Linked DNA regions of Homo sapiens: regions 2 and 3 are each linked to region 1. Evidence: promoter capture Hi-C in 16 types of primary human blood cells and fetal thymus (Javierre and others, 2016). All regions are on one chromosome and are shown on one strand. Each heading gives the region's core, a stretch centred on a gene start or on the middle of the fragment in contact. The rest is flanking DNA. Distances are from core to core; before and after follow the strand shown. Region 1 holds the start of USP16 (ubiquitin specific peptidase 16). Region 2 overlaps LTN1 (listerin E3 ubiquitin protein ligase 1). Region 3 overlaps LTN1 (listerin E3 ubiquitin protein ligase 1).

Evidence for each region. Contacts are between HindIII fragments. The CHiCAGO score rates a contact against its expected background, and 5 or more counts as called.
Region 2: a fragment that was not itself captured here is called in contact with the fragment with the promoter of USP16 in region 1 in 2 of 17 cell types (fetal thymus and total CD8 T cells); the score reaches 5.3 in fetal thymus.
Region 3: a fragment that was not itself captured here is called in contact with the fragment with the promoter of USP16 in region 1 in 2 of 17 cell types (activated CD4 T cells and total CD8 T cells); the score reaches 6.5 in activated CD4 T cells.

Annotation. Positions count from the first base shown.
Region 1 is chr21:29,022,695-29,026,454 of GRCh38, forward strand. It overlaps USP16 (ubiquitin specific peptidase 16), which reads left to right and starts at 1,974. Exons shown (of 18, transcript NM_006447.3): 1 at 1,974-2,083. RefSeq lists an enhancer at 1,850-2,239. The HindIII fragment of the contact is 4,939 bases long and covers 18-3,760 here.
Region 2 is chr21:28,936,611-28,940,370 of GRCh38, forward strand. LTN1 (listerin E3 ubiquitin protein ligase 1) reads right to left here. Exons shown (of 30, transcript NM_015565.3): 26 at 1-87. Among named protein-coding and RNA genes, the nearest start is that of HEMK2, 53 kb to the left of the region's middle. The HindIII fragment of the contact is 3,093 bases long and covers 1-2,797 here.
Region 3 is chr21:28,952,060-28,955,819 of GRCh38, forward strand. LTN1 (listerin E3 ubiquitin protein ligase 1) reads right to left here. Exons shown (of 30, transcript NM_015565.3): 17 at 1,158-1,317; 18 at 101-205. Among named protein-coding and RNA genes, the nearest start is that of LTN1, 39 kb to the right of the region's middle. The HindIII fragment of the contact is 1,992 bases long and covers 899-2,890 here.

The sequences.
Region 1 (3,760 bases), core at 724-3,223:
TGGAGCTTGGAGAAGAAAGCTTTAAAAAATTATCTCATCCCACTCCTGTTCTTTTTTGCATGAGAGCTGGAGCCTATGCCCTACCACACATCCGTGGATATGCCCAGGATTTGACTTGGGCCTTCGAACTTTGCACAGTAGCTGCTACTAACTTTTTGAGATAATACATTCGTGGGGGCTCAGTCCTGCCTCATCTAAATCACCAGAGACCAAACAAGGACCAGCCCAATATCTCTTGGACTGTAATGTCATAATGTTGTCAGAATACAGAGAAAGATGAAACTAAGCCGGGTCCGGTGGCTTATGCCTGTAATCCAGCATTTTGGGAGGCCGAGGCAGGTGGATCACTTGAGGCCAGGAGTTCAAGACCAGCCTGGCCAATATGCTGAAACCCTGCCTCTACCAAAAAAATACAAAAGTTAGCTGTGTGGTGGGGTGGCACGTGCCTATAATCCCAGCCACTGGGGAGGGTGAGGTGGGAGAATCGGGAGGTGGAGGTTGCAGTGAGCTGAGGTCGTGCCACTGCACTCCAGCCTGGGTAACAGAGTGCAACCCGGTCTCAATAAATAAATAAATAAGTAAATAAAACAAAAATTATCTCAGCAGTAAAAAGCAAGAGAGCTAGTTTTCCCCCAAATTTAACCAAATGTTACTCTGGTGGTTAGTATGCCACCATCTTAAACTCCTTTTATCTGATTAGTAAGGATGGACATTTATTTTATGACCAATTGTTCTTTTATGGTGAATTACCTGTTTACATATCTATTTTTCTATAGCTATCTGCAACTCCCCCGACCCCCACGGTAGCGATTACTATCTTCTCTACTAAACTAAGACTCCAGGGCAGAGAGGCCTATGTTTAATTCATTTGAGGAAAGGCTTGGCACAAAGTGTGCACTTACATATTTTCTTTTTTTCTTTTTGAGAGGGAGTTTTGCTCTTGTTGCCCAGGCTGGAGTGCAATGGAGTGATCTTGGCTCATTGCAACCTCTGCCTCCAGACTTCAAGCGATTCTCCCCCTTAGCCTCCCGAATAGCTGGGATTACAGGCGCCCGCCACCACGACCGACTAATTTTTTGTATTTTTAGTAGAGACGGGATTTCACCACGTTGGCCAGGCTGGTCTCGAACTCCTGACCTCACGTGATCCACCCGCCTCGGCCTCCCAGTGTTGGGATTACAGGGGTGAGCCACCGCGCCAGGGCTCGCACTTACAAATTTTCAAAGAATGGACAGTAAATATTTGAAAATCCCCTCCTCCCCCGCAATTTATCTGACACCGTCTTTCGGTTTTGCTTTAAAAATTCACTCTCGCGGCCGGGCGCGGTGGCTCACGCCTGTAATCCCAGCACGTTGGGAGGCCGAGGCGGGCGCATCACAAGGTCAGGAGTTGGAGACCAGCCTGGCCAATTGGTGAAACCCCGTCTCTACTAAAAATACAAAAATTTTAGCTGGGCGTGGTGCCGTGCGCCTGTAGTCCCAGCTACTCGGGAGGCTGAGGCAGAAGAATGCACTCCAGCCTGGGCGACAGAGGGATATTCCGTCTCAAACAAACAAAAAATCACTCGCTGCGTTTTTTATTCTGACATGGTGCAGGAAGGTAAATTCAAGACAACTTAGGTACTCAGTTTTAGAAGTCGACAGGACAGAATTACGGAAACAAATTTAAGCGTTCCCCCTTTTAGCTCCAAATATAATGTGTTCCAGAAAGGTAACCATCTAGGAAACTCCAAGGCTCAGACCACCACCGGATGCCCACACTTCAGGAGCATTTATATAACTTCGTGGTTATGTCAGAGACGAGAAAACCCATTGACAACCAAACCCCTAAACCCGAACATCCGGCGCAAGCCGCACGCAGGCGCAGATTTACTAGCGTCAGAGCCGATGGTCCCGGGAGGTGGGGGTGGGGTGGTGGTGGCCTAGCCACTTCCCATAATGCCGCGTTCCGGAAGTTATTGCTTTCCAGGGGTCACTCTGGCTTCGACTCCGTCGCTCTCAATTCGTCACCAGGAGGAAGACGGAGCTGGCTGCCCAGCCCAAAGGCCCATGAGGGGATGCAGTTATGGGCTCTGTCGCCGTGGGTGAGTTCTGGTCCCACTGCCTGGCAGTCGTCGCTCGCCTGGCTTTCTGCGCTGGGAGAGCTCCTGTTTTCCGCCCCAACTTCGTTCTCTTCTTGAAGGCCGCTCTCCTTAAGCACGTAACCCGGCTACTTTCCGGTACTGCGATCTCATTGGCTGCATGTTCTGTCAGTTCCAGAAGCTGGCCAATGAGATGCCGCTGCTGGCGGCCTTCTCGACCCCGTGGACCCAGAGGTTCCCCCGTGGGATCGGAGCAGTTAGAAGGGGAGGAGAGGGAAGGTGTGGCAGGCGCCGAGCAAATGGGTGGGTGGCGCGTGGCAGGGACTTCCCTATGGGTTGGAGCTGGATTTGCAGCCGTGTTCATACGGCTGGTAGGAAAAGCAGGATCTGTCACTTATCCAATTGACTATATCTAGGAGGGGATTGATATACGCAAAACTTGAAAGCCACGTTAACACCTGCTGACAAAGTTTTCCACACGCTTACATTTTTAATGGAACCGAGTAGGCAGGGGAAGACTGGGAGGGCAGAGAGTGAAGAGACTTGGAATAATATGAGAACCGGCAAGACTATCTTTGATTTAGATTTTGTATGGAGTCCTGCGAAGAGTCATTTCACTAAGACGTTAATGCTCATCCGATGACACTACTTGAAAAGTGTATTAAGTTTATTGATGTTTTATAGCTGATGGAAGTCACAATATGCTCTCCTCATGACTCATTAGTTGCCTTTATAGTTGTCAGAACTTTACTGAGGCTCTTTCCGCAGCACTGGAGTGACCCCTCTGTCCTCTGCCTGCAGTAATTAACAATTCGTCTTTCAAGTTTTCCTATGGAGTCTAAGCTGCTGCAATCCTCAAACCAGATTTACTAGTGCTGTCTTCACTACTGCAGACTTCTGACTTCTCATTTTTCACCCTTTTCTTTTTCACCAGAACTTGTTTGCTTCATTCTTATGTACCTACCTTTGCACCTTGTAATCATCCTTTATGCCTCAGGTACTATTCTATTTTTCTATTTCAATGCAAGAAGTATTTCTTCAGGACCTGCTATGTACTAACATTATGCTAGATATTATAGGCAGTTCCAAAACTGTGCTTGAAACCATTTATTTTTCTAAGAACTTTAGATTCTGCTTACAGAAATAACATAAACCCAGATTAAAGATTTAAGAAATTCACTAGAATATGGGATAAGGGGACAAGATGACTAGAGCATACCATAAATACTGGGGAAGTTCAGTGGAGAGGTTTATTTAGAGTAGAATGATTGTCTAAGGCTTCCTTGAAATGGAGAGCTTCCAAGATTGGTAAGATTTAGATAGAATATTACAGCTAGAAATCAAAGACATCAAGGCGGGGAGGGTACAAAGTGTTTTGGAGTGGAGTACAAGAGAAGGACTTGGCCAGGTGCTGTGGCTCACGCCTGTAATCCCAGCACTTTGGGAGGCCGAGGCAGGTGGATCACGAGGTCAGGAGTTCAGACCAGCATGGCCAAGATGGTGAAACCCCGTCTCTACTAAAAATACAAAAATTAGCCGGGTGTGGTGGTGGGCGTCTGTAATCCCAGCTATTCGGGAGGCTGAGGCAGGAGAAGCACTTGAACCCGGGCGGCAGAGGTTGCAGTGAGCCGAGATCGGGCCACTGCACTCCGGCCTGGGCGACAGAGCAAGACTCCGTCT
Region 2 (3,760 bases), core at 1-2,500, 87 kb before region 1:
ATTTTCTGGCATAAGCCTGAACAGGTGATAGAGCAATTTATTCAAACTCTTTGTTTTCCGAAGATACATGGAATACAAAGCCCGAAGCTGGTGGAGAGCAAAGAATTTGTTAGTAAACCAAATACACCAAGACAATTGGTATAAAAGAACAACTCAAAGTGTAACAAATTTCCTTTCCTCATAAACTAGCAGACATTCTATCCCCTCATTATTGTAACACATTTCTAATATCTTTCTCAAATTGTCTTCCTGTATTACAATGCACTCACCTTGGCTTAGAATGTCTGAGACAAGAAAATCTATTCACCATTCCCACAGATGACTCCCTCACTCTCCTCCCAAGTCTTCCATACATTCCTTCCACACCATTGCCCTTAACCTTTCAAATTCCTGCTTAAAACTAATCCCATTTTTATGGCTGACCTCACCCTGTATCAAAAACTCCGACATCCCTTTACGACAGAGAGCACAAACTAGTGGTCCAAAATGTCATGGGGGTCTTCTCAGAGTTGTTTTTTCAATCAGGAAATTTCACATAAAAATATGGATTTCTGATTTCTCTTTTAAAAACAGAAAAACGAGCCACCAGTGGGAGCACTGCAGGTATCTGTGTGAGACCTGTACTTCACAACTCCTGCTTTCCCTCCATAAAGTAGCTTGCATTTTCCACATTGACTTTGCAGTTCTTTGGTATCTGTATTGGTTTTAAGATAATTTCTACTATATCACATATCTCCTCACAGTACAAAGATATCATTTTCTTTCCCTTTTCTTTTTAAAAAATTTGTATTTTTAATTTTTGTGGGTACACAGTAGATATTTATGGGGCATATGAGGTATTTTATAGGCATATAATATGTACTAGGGTAAGTGGGGTATTCATCACCTCAAGCATTTATCCTTTCTTTGTGTAAAATATAGCATTTTCTGAACACTATGAATACTTAAGTACAAGGATCAAGTCATAGGATTTGGAATTGATTTTTAAAATATGTTGACCAAAGTGCTCTTATCATCAAACTTAACATCACTAATGAAGGATGAACATCCCAAATCTGAAAATCCAAAATCCAAAATGCTCCATAATCTAAAACTTGTTGAGCACCAACATGATGCTTAAAGGAAATGCTCCTGGAGCATTTCAGATTTTCGGATCTGGGATGCTCAACCAGTAAGTGTAACAAAAATATTCCAGAATCTGAAAAAATCTGAAATCAGAAACACTACTGGTCCCAGGCATTTTGGATAAGGGATACTCAACCTGTAAAAGAACACAATGACATTATATGGCTCCTGAGGTAAGACACTGAGAACACATAACAACTTGTGCAGTAAGTACTATTGCTAAAAATTAACCACAATCTAATGAGGAAACGATCAGACAAATTCACATTGTATGACAGGCTAAAAACAGCTGGCCAAAACAATGACAAGAAAGAAAAGAAAGGTATAGAAATTATAGGTTAAAGAAACTAAAGAAATATGACAAGCAAATACAAACATGATTCTTGATTGGATCTTCAATAGAGAAGAAAATAAAACTATAGAGATATTACTGGGACAACTGAAAGTATCTAAATAAAAATTAGATATTATTGCATCAAAATTAAATTTCTTGAGTATAAAAATTATATTATGCTTATGTAGAAACATGTCCGTGATCTTAGGAGATATATGCTTAAATACTTTTGGTAAAGCATCAAAATATCTGCAACTTACTTTCAAGTAGATCAGCAGAAAAAAAGTAAATACAGAGAAAGTATGTGCAAATGTAGCAATATGTTAAAAGATGTATGTAACTTTTTTATCTAAAAGAGTATGTGATTTTCCATTGAATTATTCTTCCAACTTCATTGTTTAATTTTTCAAAACAAAAAGTTAGAGATTTTTAAAAAATTAATCACCAATATCAATGGACTTTTAAAAACACACATATACGACCCAGCAATCCCACTCCAAGGTATACAACACAAGTGAAAACATATTTCAACACAAAAGCTCGTACACGAATGTTCACAGCAGCTTTATTTTCAATAGCCAAAAAAAAGGAAACAACCTAAATGCCCATTAATGGATAAACAGATAGATAAACAAAATGTGATAGATCTACAAAATGGAGTATTATTCAGCCACAAAAATAAATGCAATACTTATGATACATGCTTCAATTTGATAATCTTGAAAATAATATACTAAAATAAAAGCCAGACACAAAAGACCAGATATGTGAAATGTCCAGAACAGGCAGATGCATAGAGACAGAACACAGTTTAATGGCTGTCAGGAGCTGCGGGGTTTGAGAGGAAATGGGAAGTGATTGCTATCAATTACAATGGGATGTTGAAAAGGTTCTAAAATTATATAGTGGTTAACAGTTGCACAACTCTGTGAATACAGTCAGCCCTCCACTTCCATGGGTTCCACATCTGAGAATTCAACCAATCGCAGATTGAAAACATTTGAGGGGCAAAAAAAGTGATTTAAAAAAACCAATACAACAATAAAAATACTAAAAACTTTAATACAGTATAGCAACTATTTCAATAGCATTTACACTGTATCAGTGATAACTAATCTAGAGATGATTTTAAGTAGTATACAGGAAGATGTGCATAGGTTAGATGCAGATACTATATGCCATTTTATATAAGGAACTTGAGTATTCGCTGGGGTGGGGGTCATGGGAGGGAGCCTGGAAACAATCCCCAGCAGATATCAAGGGATGACTATATACTAAAAACACCAAACTGTGTATGCTAAGTGGGTAAATTTTATGGTATGTGCAATATCTCAGTAAAGCTTTATAAAACAGACACAAAAACATACACATGTACATATACAACTTTTTCCAGTTCAATCTGATTTGCTAGTTTTTTTGAGAAAAAAGTTAACCCATGATTTAGGAACATTTAAAGTTTTCCGAAGAAAAATTCTGTTTATTTCAGGATTCATCTAATTAGTATTACTTAGTGGGTTATTCTGGTTTATCTGCCCACAGCTCAGTTCAAGTTTCAGACTCAATAATAATAAATGCTGCCGTATAATTTTGCACCCTAACCCAATCCCAGCTTAATGAAAAAGGTGACACATGGCCATTTTCCTAATTTCTGAATATAAAATGAGAACAAAACTCTTATACACAAATGCCTCAATCTGCTGCTATTTTTTAAAGATCAACAATATTTTAAGAAATTGATGTAAAAGCCAAATAAGGAGCTCTTGAAATATATCATCAGCAAATAAAACTAGCTTAAGTCACAAAAATAAGTGACAGGCCTAAAGAGAAAACTAATCTATTTAACAGCTAGATCAATGCTGCTTCTGTGATTTGACTTTTCCCCACAGATATACAAATGCAAAGATGCAAAAATTGATATCTTTGTACCAGGGTATAGGGTATGAGCAACAACATAAATTATAATTTAAAAATTCCAAAAAGTCACATTGGAAATGAATGCCATGAATACTTAATCACACTAAATGATAAACTAAATCTTTTTGTATTGACCTGTCAAAAGAAGGCACATATTTTATTAGGCTAATTCAATCAAAGATTGACAGAGATTTGGATCTTCCTTGTTCTTTTTGAGACAGGGTCTGGCTCTGTCGCCCAGGCTTGAGTGCAGTGGCATGATCTCAGCTCACTGCAACCTCCACTTCCCCGGCTCAAACTATCTTCAAGTGGGGATCCTTCTAACAGAAAAACTAGAGAGATCTTTCCAGTTTCTTCTTGGACAAGGTCTTACTTCCTAAACATGAG
Region 3 (3,760 bases), core at 645-3,144, 71 kb before region 1:
CCTGTTTTCTTGATTCATTAGAAATTATTCATTAATTAGGGGTTGCCAAAGTGACCGATTACAGTAAACTACAAAGTAAAAACATTTTAAATAAGAATACCTTTCTTTTCTCTTATAATGTGGTTTTACTTCATCAGATGAAATGCTTCGGGAAAGGATCAACTTAGCAATAATAAGAGACCACAGTGTGCCATGTTCTCTGGACCTGAAAAAGGAAAGAAAAAAATTATATTCCGTTTTGAAAGCATACTGAATAAAATGTTTAAACACTGGCTAGCTGGATTCCTTTTACAGAATTAAATAAAGCACCTTGTGATGGCATCAATTCACCTAAGACTTTGCACCCAAGCAACTGCCAGTAATTATCCAAAGAGCTGAGAGTTTCGGCTTTCAACACTCCTTCAAGGCTGGTATTGAGCTCTCTCATCCCTAGGCAACTCCACAGTCTCTTCAGTCCCAATAGGGGAGATGATCTTAGAGATTAGGCTTGAAGACCAGAGGCTGTAGCTGGGAAAAAGACATCTCCCAGAGGACACCTAGGCAGGCTTAAGTTGAACAATCAAAGAGGTTCTTTGGTTCTGAGGAAAGTTGTGTCAACTAAGTAGAATGCGATTGGAAAGGAAGCCTGGGTCCTCTGATACAGCAAAGCATACTCAAAATACTATCGGCAAGTGATAAACTCCTAAAAAGAAAGCAGTTCAATACAGTAATTTCAAAAAGCTAAACATCTTACTACTACAACCTCTACAAGGACTGTTTTCATACCTGCCTTCCTAATCTAGGGGAGAGGGCTTTGTGGTCATAACATTAAGACACACCTATAACAACATGTAAGATAAAGGATGAATCTGAGAGCACTGGGAGGATGAGTCACAGATAAATCAAAACAACTTCTACAAGCTTCTACTTCTTTTTTGTCATCTGACCCTTGTATGTATTTATGGATTTAATAAGACAGGCAGAATACAAATATCTTCCCCTGAGAAGGTTAAATCAAGTATTTAGAATTCATAAACTATTTATTATTAAGAATAGGAATTATTTAGATCAATCCTCTGACTGAAACATTAGCATGCAGTAGGGTTACCTCTTACAGAAGGCAAAGCCATAAAGAAGTAGCATAGTCATTTTAAAAACAAATTGAAAGAGATTCTTACCTGTTAAATAACAGCTGCAAAAGGCCCGACGTATTACCAAGTACACGTAAGTTATCATACGTAATATTCATTTTTTGAAGTATTTCACAAAATCCAATTAGAAAAATAGGTGGGTTATCTAATTCTTCACACCACTGCAGTGAATAAAGCAGTTCTGCAACTAAAAGAAGAGACAGCACCAAATTATGAAAAGCACTCTGTGAACAAACCCTTCAATTACTTTCACTTCTCCACCTTGTTTTCTAACACTGTTGTGCCCACTCATCTCAAAACTCCTATGAACTGATTTTTCAAATCTGCTTTGAGATGTTCAAGGACAATGAAAACTGAGAATATATGTCTGATACAAAATACCACCCTTTTCCCAAATTCTACTTGGTCCTTTTTCTAATTAGTTAAGAATGTGACAAGAACCTAAGTTACTAGAGATACTGAAAGAATCTTCCTACCATTTTGGCACAATTGGTAAAAAGTTCCAGACAGGAAAAACAACTAAGGGACCCAAGACCTGAGGTGAGAAGTTCATGGCAAATGGGAGAAATGGGAGACAGTATGATACAGTAAAAGGACATGAGGCCTCAATTACAGATTGGGGTGGATTCAAATCTGCATCTCTCTCTCAAGCTATATAAATAGTTATCAATTAGGATACTACGAACTACCTCACAGGACTGCTGTGATAATTAAATGGCCAAGTATCTATCATAAAGCCTGGTATATCATAGGTTTCTAATACACAGTCACAGCTCCCTTTTATAAAGCCATGTATAGCTTTTGGAGTCAGAAGCATTGTGACCTGGTTCAAAATCTAATCCTACACTTACCAGCTAAGCAGCTCTAATCAAGTCATGGTAACAAAAACAACAATAATATCTGACTAATGAGCTCGATAAAATTAAAGAAATAATATTGCCAATTTGTAATTAGTAACACAAAAAATTATTACTCTACTTACTAGTTTTGGATTTGCACAGATTCACCCTGTGAGCAATGTTAAACTACAGGCTTGTTTCCTTTCCCTTAACTAAATGTGAAGGTGGCTGCCCAAAAGAGGTGTTTCAACTTTCTTCCACAGAGCATATATTCCCCCTTCTAGTAACTGTGTTACAGCTGAGGGCTTACAAACAAGACTGATACAGGGTTTCTGCAAATTCTCTACCTTTAATACCATCTTGTAAAAGTCACTCCACCACCTATAATTCTAAACCATTTGTTGAAACAGGGAAATTTGCTGAGGCCCTAAGTCCTCTTAGGGTTCAACATTTGAACGTCCACTTGCCAGAAAAAAAATTAGAGCCCGATGAAATACAAAAGTATTCAAAACCATTGGAATCAAAACAGCATGGTATTTGTATAAAAACAGACACACACAGACCAATGGAACAGAACTAGAGAACCCAGAAATAAATCCACATATTTGCAGGCAATTGACAAAGTCTTCAACAAAAATGCCAAGAACATATATTGGGGAAAGGACATCCTCTTCAAGAAATTGTGCTAGGAAAACTGAATATTCATATGTAGAAAAGTGAAAACAGACCTCTATCTCTCACCATCTAAAAAGATCAACTCAAAATGGATTAGAGACTTAAACCTAAGAACTGAAACTATATAAAACAACTAGAAAGCATCAAGGAACGCTATAGGACATTGGTCTAGGCAAATATTTTTATGGCTAAGACTTCAAAAGCGAAGGCAACAAAAACAGGCAAATAGGACTATGTTAAACTAAAAGCTTTCTGCACAGCAAAAGAAACAATCAACAAAGTGAAGAGACAATCTGTAGAATGGGAGAAAATATTTGCAAACTATTCATCCAACAAGGGGCTAACATAAGGAATATATAAGGAACTCAAACAACTCAACGGCAAGAAAGGAAAAAAAAATCCCATGCTCAATATTAGTAATCATCAGGGAAATGCAAATCAAAACCCCAGTTAGAATGCCTCTTGTCAAAAAGGTAAGAAATAAGCTGGGAATGGTGGCACTGCTTGTAATCGCAGCACTTTGGGAGGCTGAGGCAAGAGGATTGCTTGAGCCCAGGATAAAGACCTGTCTGGGCAACATAGTAACACCCCATCTCTAAAAAAACAAAGACAAAAAATAACAAATGCTGGCAAGAATGCAGAGAAATAGGAACTTATATACTATTGGTAGGAATGCAAATTAGTACAGCCATTTTGGAAAACGATATGGAAGTATTTCAAAAAACTAAAAATAGAACTATCACACAATCCAGCAATCCCATTGAATATTTAGAAAACCAGTATATCAAAGGTATATCTGCACCCCTATATTTGCTGCAGCACTATTCACAATAGCTGAGATATGAAATCAACCTAAGTGTCCATCAGTGAATGAATGGATATATAAAATGTGGTACATATGCACAATGGAATACTATTCAGCCATTAAAAAAAGAATGAGGCCAGGCACGGTAGCTCACTTCTATAATCCCAGCACTTTGGGAGGCTGAGACGGGCGGATCACGAGGTCAGGAGTTCAAGACCAGCCTGGCCAACATAGTGAAACCCCGTCTCTACCAAAAATACAAAAATTAGCTGGGCATGGTGGTGTGCGCCTGTAGTCCCATCTACTTGGGA